Linked DNA regions of Homo sapiens: all the other regions are linked to region 1. Evidence: promoter capture Hi-C in 16 types of primary human blood cells and fetal thymus (Javierre and others, 2016). All regions are on one chromosome and are shown on one strand. The core of a region is centred on a gene start or on the middle of the fragment in contact, and the rest is flanking DNA. Distances in the headings are between cores, read along the strand shown. Region 1 holds the start of NFX1 (nuclear transcription factor, X-box binding 1). Region 2 has its middle 45 kb from the start of PTENP1-AS. Region 3 overlaps APTX (aprataxin). Region 4 overlaps DNAJA1 (DnaJ heat shock protein family (Hsp40) member A1). Region 5 has its middle 3.1 kb from the start of APTX.

Region 1 (2,700 bases), core at 160-2,659:
TCCCTCCTCTCCCCCTGCCTCCTGGCCTGCCACCCCACCCCAGCGTTTACCCCAAAGCACAATGCCCTGGTCACTTGGCAAGTGGCTGGGCCTGACGGAGGCCAAGGGGCAGACCGGGGCTCCAGCCAGACCCCCGAAAGGAAGCAGGTGCTCCCCCACTTCCAGGACTTAGTTGGGGCGGGGGGCCCAGCTCCTGGGCCTAGGGTCTTCTCACCCCCACCCCCTTGTCCTGGGTAGGCCCCTGCCTGCCCCTCTCTGCCTTTTCCTCGGGTGTCCCTCCTCGAGCCCCTGCGGCACTGGCTTGGGTGGCAGAGCCCACTTGTTTCAGGGACCCCAGGAGGTGGTGCCCCCTGGCTCCTGGGACTGTGTGTGGGTCTGGGGGGTGGGGGGGTGGGGAGAAGCGTCGGGCAGGGGGTGCAGGGGAGGAAACTCCTCACCAGGAAAGCCAAAGACAGGGTTGTGCCTTACCTCAGGAGCCACCCGTTCCCCCTTGCCCTGCCGTTCACCCTCCACCTTTCCCCCCGGGCGGCCTGCTGCTTTTTCCTTCTCTTCCTCCCCTGCCCTGCCCTGAGCTGCATGGTTCCCCTACCCTGGGAAGCCAGGAAGGAATCTGAATGGAGAATCACCAACCACCAAAGAAAAAAAGACTGCGGGGCCCTCCCCTGCCAACTCCCCTTCCCTGGCCGCCCACTCACCCACACCTCTTTCACGCAGGACAGGCTGCCCACCCTGTCCACGTGAAGTGCCAACGCCCTCCCCACCCTGGGCCGAGCCCCCACCCCTCCCTGGGCCCCCAAGTGAGATTGCACATTTAACTACTGTAAGGAGAGGAGCGGCGTTGGCAAATGTGAACCATGAGAATATCGGTGATACTGATGAGAATAAACGCCTTTGTAAAAAAAAAAAAAAAAAAAAAAGTCTGGAGCCAGGCGTGGTGGCTCGCCTGTAAGCCAAGCACTTTAGGAGGCCAAAGCGGCAGGATCGCTTGAGGCCAGGAGTTGGAGAGACTAGCCTGGGCAACATGGCGAAACCCGTCTCTACTAAAAATAGCTGCGCATGGTGGCTCCGCCTGTAGTTCCAGCTACCGGAAGGCTGAGGCGGGAGGATTAGAGACTGAAGCTATAGTGAGCCATGATCAGACCACTGCACTCAAGCCTGGGTAAGGCAGCAAGACCCTATATCAAAAAATAAAAAAAGGAAAACCACAATGATTACGCAAGTCGCCGCCCTCCCTCCTGCGATTGTTGCTATTTCCATCCAGCTACTAGTCTCCTCCTCCCGCCCGACACCTGGCGCGTCTATCTGACGTCACGAACGCGCCACACAGATTCGGGCTGCGCAACCTCTGTGGCCGTCTACACGGCGCGCAGATGCGAATATTCTCGCGGCGCCGGAAGTCCGGGGCACGTGACCTGGTGACAGTGCTGACTTGGCTGTACAGCTCGATCTAGGTTCTGCGGCACGGGATGGCGGAGGCGCCTCCTGTCTCAGGTATTGTCCCGGCCCGAGCGGGACTGGGCCCCTTTCAGGGAGCGGAAATTGGGTCAGTGACGAAGTTCTAGGGCCTCAGCCACTCATATCGCGAGAGTAGCACATGCTAGGGCGTAGGATAGTGGCTCGGAAGGGCCAAGCCCCGCGCATCGTGCGTACGAAGATCTGTGTCTTCTTGGACTAGATGGTGAAGCCCAGTAGCTGGGTTTCGGAGGAGAGAGGACTTGTCCCGGCGCTGCGAGTCGATGTGGGTGCCCTGCCTTCCCACAGGCTGTTTCTGGGGCAGCGGCGCACTGACCTTCGACAGGCGGGCGTCGGCCAGGTCACAGCCAGTGACGGTGGCGGGCTCTTGACGTGTAGGGTGTGGTGTGCTCATACCGCCTGGAGTGGTGGCGTGGGCGCGAGCCGAATTCCAGTAGTTTAGAGTCTCAGCCTGCTGCGAACCCCGTGTGACTCAGTCTCAGTCTCCTCATCTGTCAGTTGGGAGTAGATAAGTTAATTCCTGTGATGGCTCCCGCCCTGTACTGTACCTATTCTGTAATTGTTCACTCACTCCCCCTCCTGGAGTTGCCTCAGTGTGTAGAGACAGCCTCATTTGTTCGTTGATATAACATCCATTTCCTCAGGGTGTTCCATAGATCAGTGTTTTCCAAATGTGTTGGACAGCAACCAAAAGAAACATTTTGCATCGCGACCTTAAATATTGTACACTTACATAAATATAAAAGCGAACCAGAAGTTTCTGGAAGCAGTGAGGTTGGTTGGTTTGTTTTACAATCAGCAATATATTCTGTTTTCTGTTTCGTTTAAAAATATGTCACAGCCCACTGCCTTCATTTGATTTTATGGCCCACTCTGGAAAACAGGGCAGCAGTTTGCAGAATGGAGTTTGGAAACCATTGGTTTGAATCTCAGCTCTGTCCCTGACCAGCCGTTGGGGCACCAAGAAGACCATATATGTATTTGTATACTGGGTGGCAGGTAAAATGTATTTATTACTATGGTTCTTAGTTTAAAAAGTTAGGGCCGGGCGTGGTGGCTCACGCCTGTAATCCTAGCACTTTGGGAGGCCGAGGTGGACGGATCACGAGGTCAGGAGATCGAGACCATCCTGGCTAACACGGTGAAACCCCGTCTCTACTAAAAATACAAAAAATTAGCTGGGCATGGTGGCACGCGCCTGTAGTCCCAGCTACTCCGGAGGCTGAG
Region 2 (2,790 bases), core at 72-2,571, 430 kb after region 1:
ACAGCAGAGATCAGTAATACAGGCTTTGCCCTGCTGAAACTTCCCTCTGAAAGGAAGCATAATGCTTTCAGCCAAGTGCCTGCCCAGAGCTCTAAATAGATAACAGTTTAGAAGGGGGGTGTGATCACCAAGGGTACAGATGGGCTTCACAGAGCCCATAACCCCCACCAAAATTGAATGCCAATGTGTATAGGTGTGTGCCTAGGTGCATTTTCCTCAGGAAAGGTCCAAAGCTTTCATAGGATTCTCAAATGGATCTAGATCACATAGAGAGAGGAGAGGGGGTTGTCAGCAGGAGCAGCCCAGGAGACACTCAGTGAGAATACGCAAGGGTCTGCACCTGTCAGACTTTGGTCTGCATAATTATATGCATAATTTGCATATAATTTGGTATGCAAGATTGCAATGCGATTAAGCTATCTTGCAGTATCTTAAAGAAACTCTGGTAAAGGGTACCCTAGATACTAGTAAAATGAATTAGCTGTGCACATATGTGGAGGAGATTGTAACTGGGGTGGAAGTAAGACTTCACTGTATACCTTTCTGTGTGAATTGATTTTTGAGCCAATGTAATGCCTATTCTAAAACAAAATATAGCACTTCATATAAAGGGCAAAATTAAAACATAATGGAAAAACTACCAAAACCCAATGAGGAAGTCATTGTTCCAATGCCCAAGTTGGGGTGGAGTGAAGCAGAGAACATTCTCCACCACTTTGCAGGTGTGGAGGAATATGGCTGGACGGAATTCGCAGAAGAGCACAGCTCCCGTGGACTCTGTCCTTCCAGAGCCTCTCAACCCTTGTCAGCCTGGGAAGGGGGCCTGAACCAGTGAACCAGAGCCTCTCAAATGTCAGCCTGAGTAATTTTTTGCCTCTAAGTATTCTTTTGTGGCTTCTTCTGAGAAGGTTCACAAATTTTCCTTTTCTTTACAGACATCTCACAAATCCTTAAGGAGGAGGCTGTGTCCCTAGAGTCCTGTAGTCGAGACATTTGAGAATTTGGGACCCAGTTGGAAGTGGTTGCGTATTTCCATTGTGTGGGAATATGTAAAAGGCCCAAGCCTCACCAAGAAGGGAAGACCAGGCTGCTCTCATCTCAAGGGCCAGTTGCTTCACACACCGGAGTGGGCCTAATGTTCAAGGAGCTTCTTTCTCCATTTCTCCCCACAGTGCTTAACGTCTCAGGCCACGGGCTGCCAGCACTCACCTGCCGAGGCCGCCCTGCGGCCTCCCTGTTCTGAGGCCCCTGCCTCTCCCTGATGAAACTTCCTCCGTGCTAACTTGGCAAGAAAAGGCAAACGCTGCTGTGCTTCCCTTTGCCCTTGAAAAGAATGAGGTTTAGGGGAGGCTCTGCACAGTCCTGTGCTGTCCGGGATAGCTGAGCAGAAGCTGTTGAAGCCGGCCTGCTGGACTGAGCTTGGTCCAGCAGCCTATCCACGTGAGAGCCCTGGCTATCTGGAGGCACAGGGAGCTGCTGGGCCTGCAGCGTCCCACCTGGAGGGAAAGAACGCACCGCCAAGGAGGCGTGGGCCCTGCAGCCCGTGCTGGGCCGCGAATCTGGTAGCCACGCTTCTCCGGCGGAACGCGGCGCCCCCTGGCGGCAGAACGCTTGTGGCCGCCGTTACACTCGTGTGGAAACAGCGCCATCTGCCGAATGCTCCATCTCATTGCTGATTGGCCCACACAGACTTTGTAAGGATTTTTCCTTCTGCTTGCTTAAATCAGGCCATATTGAGCCTATTCAAAGTGTACTTCTGAAATGAAAAAAGAAAGTGACTGTACAAGATGTTTTGCTCACTGGAAAAACGAGGATGAATGGAAAATGGGTAGCGATTATCTGAATAATATGTGCTTCCTGTCTGTAGTGAGGTGTGAACATGGTGGGGCCGCACATTGCAGAGGAAAACGCATGCATTTTGGAGTCAGGCAACTGCGATCAAATTCTTACTAGCTTTGTGAGCTAGGAAAGTTACTTAGCATTTCCAAGCCTCATTTGTCCTTATCTGTAAAGTAGAAGTACATTTACCTTGCAGCATTGTAGCAAAAGTTAAATAAAACAATGTGCATAAAATGAAAATTAAATGTGTATGAAGTAAGATAATATATATAATAGGTAGACTTTAAAGTATAACATAAAAATATCACATAGCCATTTTTTTCTAATTGTTAGAATTGTGAAATATTCCTGAAATGGATTTATCAAATGAGAAGACAGAATCTCTCTGAGGTATTTTTAAATTTTCTCTAGAATGGTTGATTCTGACCTTTCTGTAAAAGACGATCTATTTCTGGGCACAGATCCTAGAAACAGAATTCTGCCAAAGTGAGACTCCACTAACATTTATTGAATGTCTGCCGCATGCTACACACTTTCAAAGATGCTCTTTCATTATCGCCAGTAAAATCTGAAGCTTCAGGATCTATTCCTCTTCCCAGCAGAAAGTTTTGCCAGGAATATCAGAACCTCTTTTTTACAGCCTCTCAAGTACTTTCAAGATTATTCAGAAAAGCCCAAAACTTTGAACAACCCAAATGCCAATTAACAGGAGAATCAACGATACTACATCCATACAATGAAATATTACTGGGCAATGAAAAAGACAAACAACCAGATAAACATCATAGGAGGGACTCTCAAATCTGAGGCAAAAATAGTCAGGCCAAAAAATATACTGTATTTGCATGAAGTTCTAGAATATGAAAATCTAATTGATGGTGGTAGAAATCAGAATCGTTGTCCGCACAGGATAGGCGTGGGGATTGACTGCAGAGGGGCACTAGGGAACTT
Region 3 (2,717 bases), core at 23-2,522, 310 kb before region 1:
TCTAAAATCTAGACTTATCATCTTATTGCTTAAATCAAAGAAATCACGGAGATCCACCTTGCTTGTATTCTTTGAAAGAAATCAGTCATTCCTTTCTGAATCCTTCTGGGCATAAGCCACAGGAAAACAAATTCTATACTTTTCTCTCATTTTATTTTCAAATCCTGGATCTACTACGCTGTCATTACAGAAGTCTATGATGTTTGTTTCCTTCAGAGTAATGGTCCTTAATCATTCTGGGGTTATAGACGCTTTTGAAGAATCTGATAAAAGCCACTGACCACAATTCTTTATCTGAGGATAATGAAGCTGCTTCATCTAGTTCATATATTAGGCTCTCGAAGATTTATATTTTGAGAGGAACAAAGAACCAAATATGACTGAATTATAGGCAGAAGTGGGAACTCAAAGCTTGCATGCAAGTCAGGCAGAGAGGTGGAAGCTTCAGCCCACCTGCTTTGGAAAAACTCCATCCCACTTCCCTGGGTCTCAGTGCAATATGTGCCCTCAGCAAGCCCAGGCTGAATCTATCTGCCCACCTGGACAGAACCAGGAGCCAGCAGCACTACCCACCTGGCTTACCTCATACTCGGAATGGCGTGGTAGCCCAATCGGAAGCGGAGTTTGCTGGACCCAGCAAAATCTACAATCACCTTTTCCCCCACAGTGTGCATATGCTTAAGGAGTTCAAGGTGTTCCCTGGCCACAGCCTTCAGACTGGAAATGGAGGTCCACGGTAAGACCAGCCAATGGTAACGGGCCTTTGGGTATTTATCCTTTATCACCACCACCTGCTCATCTTTGTAAACCTAGCAGAGGGATACAAGAGAAGGAAACAGACATCTACTAAGAATCTTCTGTGTGCCTGGTTGTTATATTCACTAAGTCACTTAATTCCCACAGTCTTGTGCAAATGGTTTTAATAGCCCAGTTTTGAGAGAGGAGAGCACTGAAATTCAGACAGGTTGAGTGTCTTGCACAAGTCATAGTTCCTAAGAGGGAAATCTAGGATTCCAACTCAGATGTGGTTGACTCCAGAGTCTGTTTTCAACCACCACACTACACAGAATACACAGAAGATGCACAGTACAAAATAGTTCCCAAGAATGTGATGTAAAATCTCTGTAGACATAAATTCAAAAGCATCCTTCTCCACTCCAACATGGCAGACTGTGTGACACGTACACGTGGGTTCCAGTGAGCCCTATTAGACCTGCCCCTTGTCAACAAGGAATATAATTGAAGTGGGACTCAAAGGCTCCTCAAGGATGATGCCTGTTTTTTTTTTTTTTTTTTTTTTTTTGAGATGGAGTTTCGCTCTTGTTGCCCAGGCTGGAGTACAATGGTGCAATCTCAGCTCACCGCAACCTCCACCTCCCGGATTCAAGTGATTCTCCTGCCTCAGCCTCTCGAGTAGCTGAGATTACAGGCATGCACCACCATGCCCAGCTAATTTTTTGTATTTTTAGTAGAGACAGGGTTTCTCCATGTTGGTCAGGCTGATCTCGAACTCCTGACCTCAGGTGATCCTCCCGTCTCGGCCTCCCAAAGTGCTGGGATTACAGGGATGTCTGACTGTTAATGCCAGGGCAGCACAGTACTACTGTCACAGTGTATTATCTCTGATGCTCCCCTGAAAGGAACCATACTAAGGTTAATGCAACTTCCCTTAAAGTACCCAGAAGTTTAAAAGGCACAAGGCAGAGGGGATATTCATTTGAAGAACTCAGCTTTCTCTCCAAACAATGACAGCTGCTACTTTATTGCCAATGTGAAAAGCCTCTTGTTCTCACAGAACAGCCCAATAAAATGAATCTCATTCAGAAAGACTGATATCCTTTGATTTCATTTGTAATTAAGACCTCTGTGGAGTGGTCATTTACAACATGAAATGTACTGAAATTCCAAAATTGTATTCTGACCTGCATTTTGGGGTCCTGCATAGAAATCTTCAAGCCTTGACTCCAGTGGCCCAGGGATTCCTAAAAAAAAAACAAAAAAAAAAACAAAAAAAAAAAAAAACAAGCAATGTAAATTACAAATGCCAATAATTAAATTTGGCAACAGTTAATACTGTGTGATAGCACAACTAAACTTGGAAATAAGCTTAGTTTTTGAGAATTAAACAAGATTCACTTGACTCTGCTTCACTCCATTGCCTTCCTATATTCTCTTTTTTTTTGAGACAAAGTCTCACTCTGTCTCACCCAAGCTGGAGTGCAGCGGCGTGATCACTGCAACCTCCGAAGTGATTCTCCTGCCTCAGCCTCCCAAGTAGCTGGGATTACAGGTGCCCACCACCACGCCCAGCTAACTTTTGTATTTTTTAGTAGAGACGGAGTTTCACCAGGTTGGCCATGCTGGTCTTGAACTCCTCACCTCAGGTGATCCACTGGCCTCCACCTCCCCAAGTGCTGGGATTACAGGCGTGAGCCACCACACCCGACCCTATATTCTTTCTTTTTTTTTTTGAGATGGGGTTTCGCTCTTGTTGCCCAGGCTGGAGTACAATGGCGTGATCTCGGCTCACTGCAACCTCTGCCTCCCGGGTTCAAGCGATGCTCCTGCCCAGCCTCTGGAGTTGCTGGGATTATAGGCATGCACCACCACGCCCAGCTAATTTTGTATTTTTAGTAGAGATTAGGTTTTGCCATGTTGGTCAGGCTGGTCTCGAACTCCTGACCTCAGGTGATCTGCCCATCTCGGCCTCCCAAAGT
Region 4 (2,700 bases), core at 146-2,645, 260 kb before region 1:
CTCTGGAGGCTGAGGCAGGAGAATCGCTTGAACCCTGGAGGCAGAGGTTGCAGCGAACGGAGGTCACGCCACTGCACTCCAGCCTGGGCAACAAGAGTGAATCTCTGTCACAAAAAACCCAAAAAAATCCAAAAATTAGCCAGGCATGGTGGTGCGTGCCTGTAATCCCAGTTACTCAGGAGGGCTGAAGCAGGAGAGTCGCTTGAACCCGGGAGGTGGAGGTTGCAGTGAGCTGAGATCGCCCAATTACACTCCAGCCTGAGCAACACAGCGAGACTCTTGTCTCAAAAAAAAAAAAAAAAAAAAAAAAAGACAAAGTATATAGCAATATAATTTTCCAAGCCCTTTTTACAGATCTTATTTGGTGTTCCCTCACTCCCCAAAGGAATTTGATGGTAGGTACAGTGGCCTTTTTCAAATGGGAGTAAGTTAAAGTTCAGAAACCTAAAACTTCTTCAAGCTCATATAGCAAGCCAACAGAGCCAGGGCTGAAAACTGGTTCGTTGCCTGCCATCTATCTATTCTTGTTTCAGCTTTATTGTGTCAAAATTATGTATTTAATATGTTTATCAGGAAAGTGGCCTATGGGCTCTAGAAATACTGCTTATAGGAGTAAAATGTTCAAGAGAAATCAGTCTCACTTTATTTCCAGTATAGTGTATACAAATAAGGGCTGATGAGCAGAACCAGTTTTAGAATGAATGGCCAAGCCATTAAATTTCACTTTGAGCTTCTTAAGGTTCAGAAAGATTTGGGAAATTGTTTATTCAGTTTTTCTTTAAAGATCTTCAAGGAAAGGATTATGTTTTTATTAAGATACTTAAACTCCTTAAAAAGAAAGTCCACAATCCAAATGACTTGCTTAGTAAATTGTTAGAATTTGTCCACAAAAAAGTAGTGGTGGTTTTTCACTTACCTTACAAAGAACCTGCAGGTTAACATTGGCAAGCTCTTTTATGTGGCTTATGATCATATTGAGAGGTTATTTCTGGGGAAATGCGCTTCATCAAGCTCTAGAAGCTTTATTTTTCCTTCCTTATACTCAACACTGTTCAAAATAAGGGCAGCTAGATTTTAGCGTGCCAAAACTAAAGGTGGAACTATAAGCAGAAGGACATAATTAATGGTATTTCATGCTTGATTAGAAAGTTAAAATGTTCATTAGGCATATTGTACAGAAACGAGTTTGAGAACTTTTTTCAGTTGGTGGAAAGGCAATAATATTGTTGTGAATAAGTCCTTGTGGAAGGACCACTAGTTAGGAACTTACTAACTTACTAGCAGGTGACTTCATACTTCTAACCTCAGTGTCCTTATGAGATCTTGACCTTCCATTTCCTATTCTGATTTAAGTGAAGTAAGGCACTCCTTAGTAGCCACTGGCCATGTGTGGCTCCATTAATTTAAGACAAAAACAAAAATACGGTTTCTTAGTCTAAATGGCCACATTTACATGCTCAATAAGCACATGTGATTGGTGGCTGCTACGTTGGACAGAACAGATATAAAACATTTATCACTGCAGAAAGTTCTGTTGGGCAATGCTATTATAAAAGGTATGAGAAATTTGGCCTTCAAAACAACCAGTGCTGGCCCAGCAGTAAATGGGCTGTTTTCTACTAAATCAGGAAGAAGTAGAAATTGATACTCTTCTGTGGTGACTCAATAAATACATCAGCTTCCCTGGCCAATCTTGATTAATGAGAATTTACTGTGCTACAGAATTTTTGGATGAAGTAATTGGCCATGTTGCTCAATACGGTACGAAGTGAAAGCTTCAAAAAATATATTGTGACAGAAATGAATGTTTGGATTATTGTGAAATGTGCCCTTTTAAATAACATTGGTTTTTCTCAAGTGACTTTGAAGGTAATGCTTTTGCTTACCATATTTCCAAGATGGCCACGTCTGTGCCCTTAAGCAAATATTTAATCTCTGACCTGATTTTCCCTCATCTGTGATTACATCACAGTTTGAGGATCATCTGTGATAACGTGAACATTCTGTGTATATAGTAGGTAGTCAACAGATGTACCCTGTGAGGCTCATCTTTTATTATTCTTTGCCACATTCTTTATAGTGCCTTTAGCACAAATAAGATCCAGCATCTTAAACAGATTTGCAATGAGAAATATTTTGTTTTAGGTAAAAATGTTGTACATCAGCTCTCAGTAACCCTAGAAGACTTATATAATGGTGCAACAAGAAAACTGGCTCTGCAAAAGAATGTGATTTGTGACAAATGTGAAGGTACGGTGTTTTTTTGTTTTGTTTTGTTTTGTTTTTAAGCACCTTTAATATGACACCTGAAAATGGAGCTAAGACTTCTAGATAGATATGTAAAATTGATTCATGTACACTACCTAGATTTTGGGGGAGGAGAGGGCAGATATGAAGAAAACCAACTGAAAACCTCCCACCTAAAGAAATATCAGCACTTTTTTCTGTGTATATTTTAAATACAGTTGGGATCAAGCTAGTTTGGTATCTTTTTTGTAATAAGTAAAATTTATTGGAAAGTGTGTTCTAATAAGAATGAAACTCATTGGAATGATCTCATCAGTTGTACATTCAGAGGGTAGCATTCCATCAGGCTTCGAAAATATTAAAAGTATAGCATTTAGGAATTGTCTTCTTAAAACATTTACTACTGTATACACTACTAATTCATACATTATTTAATTTTCTTTTTAAATTTAG
Region 5 (2,866 bases), core at 97-2,596, 290 kb before region 1:
AAGATCACATGGCACAATGTATAGCTAAAGGTATGGCAGGCAGTGAAGACTTTCAGGCACTTCATATTGCCATGCTAATCACCAGAACTTTTTCATCTTGAAAAACTGAAACTCGGCCAGGCACGGTGGCTCACACCTGTAATCCCAGCACTTTGGGAGGCCAACGCAGGTGGATTACCTGAGGTCAGGAGTTCAAGACCAGCCTGGCGTGGCGGAACTCGCCTGTAGTCCCAGCTACTTGGGAGGCTGAAGCAGAAGAATTGCTTGAACCCGGGAGGTAGAGGTTGCAGTGAGCCAAGATCACTCCACTGCACTCCAGCCTGGGCGATAGAGCAAGACTCTGCCTCAAAAAAAAAACTCCGTATCGATTAAATAGCTCCCTATTTTCCCTCCCCCACCTGGCAACCACCATTCTACTTACAGTTTTCATGAGTCTGACCACTCTAGGTACCTCATGTAAGTAAAATCAGACAGTATTTGCCCATTTGCGACTGGCTTATTTCACTTAATATAATGTCCTCAAGTTTCATCCACATTGTATCATGTGTAAAAAGTTCCTTTTTAAAGCTGAATAACACTCCATTGCATGTACACACCATACTTTATCCATTCATCCACCCGTGGATATTCCACCATTTGGCTATTGTGAATAATGCTGCTATGAACATGAGTGTATAAATATCTCTTTGAGATCCTGTTTTCACAATTTGCAATTGCAAGAACATGGAACCAACCTAAATGCCCATGAACTGATGAATGCATAAAGAAAATGTCGTACATATACACCACAGAATACTACTCAGCCATAAAGAAGAATGAAATAATGTCTTTTGAAGCAACTTGAATGGAACTGGAGGCCATTTTTCTAAGTGAAGTAACTCAGGAATGGAAAACCAAATACCACATGTTCTCACTTATAATTGGCAGCTAAGCTTTGGGTATGTAAAGGCATACAGAGTGGTATAATGTTCATTGGAGATTCAGAAGTGGAGAGAGTGGGAGGAAGATGAGAGATTTTAAAAAACTACATATTGGGTGTAACTATTACTCGGGTGATAGGTACACTAAAATTTCAGACTTCACCATTATACACTTCATCCATGAAACCAAAAACCATTTGTACCCCTAAAGCCACTGAAATTTGTTTTTAATGTGAAACAATTTTTAAAAATTCTTCTTTCAATTATTTTGAATATATACACAGAAGTGAAACTGCTGGATTATATGGTAATTCCATTTTTAATATTTTGAGGAACTGTCACACTGTTTTCCATAGCAGCTGGATGATTTTACATTTCTACCAATAGTGTACAAGAGTTCCAATTTCTCCACATTCTTGCCAACCCTTTTTTTTTTTTTTTTTTTTGAGATGGAGTCTCGCTCTGTCACCCAGGCTGGAGTGCAGTGGTGCAATCTCGGCTCCCTGCAACCTCCACCTCGCGGCTTAAGGCGATTCTCCTGCCTCAGCCTCCTGAGTAGCTGGGACTACAGGTGCCTGCCACCACACCCGGGTAATTTTTGTATTTTTTTTTTTTTTAGAAGAGATGGGGTTTCACCATATTGGCCAGGCTGATCTCAAACTCCTGACCTTGTGATCCACCCACCTCGGCCTCCCAAAGTGCTGGGATTACAGGTGTGAGCCACTGCGCCCGGCCGCTTGTTACTTTTTTTTGATAGCAGCCATCCTAATGGGTGTGAAATGGTATCTCATTGTGGTTTTGCTTTGTATTTCCCTAATGATTAGTGATGTTGATCTTTTCATAAGCTTCCTGTCTATTTGTATGTATTTGGAGAAATGTCTATTCAAGTACTTCATTTTTTAATGGGGTTATTTTTGTTTTGTTTTGTTGTAGGAGTTCTTTATATATTCTGGATATTGACCTCTGATCAAATATAAGATTCCCATTTCATAGGGTGCTTTTCACTCTGCTTGCTGGCTGTATCCCTGGATGCACAAAACTTAATTGTGAAGTACTTTAATTTACCTATTTTTACTTTTGCTGCCTGTCTTTTGGTGTTATATCCAAGAAAACATTGCCAAATCTGTCATGAAACTTTTCCCTTATGTTTTCTAAGAGTTTTATAGTTTTAGGTCTTATGTTTAGGTCTTTGATCCATTTTTGAGGTGTGGTTTTATTTTTTTGTTTTTTGTTTTTGTTTTTGTTTTTGTGAGACAGAGTCTTGCTCTGTTGCCCAGGCTGGAGTGCAGTGATGCAATCACAGCTTACTGCAGCCTTGACCACCCAGACTCAAACAATCCTCCCACCTCAGCCTCCCAAGTAGCTGGGACTACAAGCATGTCCCACCAAGCCTGGCTAATTTTTTTTTTAATAGAGACAGAGGTCTTGCTATGTTGCCCAGGCTGATCTTGAACTCCTGGGCTCAAGCAATCCTCCTGCCTCAGCCTCCCAAAGTGCTGACATTACAGGTGTGAGACACTGTGCCTGGCCTTGAGTTCATTTTCTGTACTATGTAAGGTAAGGCTCCAACTTCAATTTTTTGCATGTGGATACCCAGATTTTAACAATATCATTTGTTGAAAAGACTGCCCTTTCCTCACTGAATGGTATTGACATACTTACTGAATATCATTTAATCATTTATGCAAGGATTTACTTCTGGGATTTCTATTGTATTCCATCAGTCTGTATGTCTGTCTTTACACTAGTACTGCACTGTTTTGATTACTATAGCTTTGTAATACTTTTTGAAATCAGGAAGTATAAGAACTTTATTCTTTTTTTTTTCAAGATTGTTTTTGGCTACTCTGCTCAGGGTTTTGTTGTTTGTTTGTTTGTTTGTTTGTTTTAATTCCAACAGTTAGAAATGAGATCTCACATGAAAACCTGGATTCTGGCTGGGCTCA

What was found. Contacts are between HindIII fragments. The CHiCAGO score rates a contact against its expected background, and 5 or more counts as called.
Region 2: a contact is called between a fragment that was not itself captured here and the fragment with the promoter of NFX1 in region 1, in 2 of 17 cell types (fetal thymus and erythroblasts). The highest score is 6.5, in fetal thymus.
Region 3: a contact is called between a fragment that was not itself captured here and the fragment with the promoter of NFX1 in region 1, in 1 of 17 cell types (monocytes). The highest score is 5.0, in monocytes.
Region 4: a contact is called between a fragment that was not itself captured here and the fragment with the promoter of NFX1 in region 1, in 17 of 17 cell types (naive B cells, total B cells, monocytes and 14 more). The highest score is 23.1, in naive B cells.
Region 5: a contact is called between a fragment that was not itself captured here and the fragment with the promoter of NFX1 in region 1, in 3 of 17 cell types (monocytes, neutrophils and naive B cells). The highest score is 9.5, in monocytes.

The regions. Positions count from the first base shown.
Region 1 is chr9:33,289,107-33,291,806 of GRCh38, forward strand. NFX1 (nuclear transcription factor, X-box binding 1) reads left to right here and starts at 1,410. Exons shown (of 24, transcript NM_002504.6): 1 at 1,410-1,491. The coding sequence starts at 1,467. It also overlaps the pseudogene LOC100862682. RefSeq lists enhancers at 1-300, 1,006-1,425, 1,436-1,485, 1,455-2,654, 1,636-1,685. The HindIII fragment of the contact is 6,050 bases long and covers 1-2,700 here.
Region 2 is chr9:33,720,656-33,723,445 of GRCh38, forward strand. No RefSeq gene overlaps it. Among named protein-coding and RNA genes, the nearest start is that of PTENP1-AS, 45 kb to the left of the region's middle. RefSeq lists enhancers at 854-1,355, 1,356-1,855. The HindIII fragment of the contact is 2,180 bases long and covers 232-2,411 here.
Region 3 is chr9:32,984,049-32,986,765 of GRCh38, forward strand. APTX (aprataxin) reads right to left here. Exons shown (of 8, transcript NM_001195248.2): 5 at 1,923-1,982; 6 at 583-809. Among named protein-coding and RNA genes, the nearest start is that of APTX, 16 kb to the right of the region's middle. The HindIII fragment of the contact is 1,664 bases long and covers 441-2,104 here.
Region 4 is chr9:33,027,740-33,030,439 of GRCh38, forward strand. DNAJA1 (DnaJ heat shock protein family (Hsp40) member A1) reads left to right here. Exons shown (of 9, transcript NM_001539.4): 4 at 2,146-2,250. Among named protein-coding and RNA genes, the nearest start is that of DNAJA1, 3.8 kb to the left of the region's middle. The HindIII fragment of the contact is 755 bases long and covers 1,019-1,773 here.
Region 5 is chr9:33,003,285-33,006,150 of GRCh38, forward strand. It overlaps a transcript of APTX not described here. Among named protein-coding and RNA genes, the nearest start is that of APTX, 3.1 kb to the left of the region's middle. The HindIII fragment of the contact is 833 bases long and covers 931-1,763 here.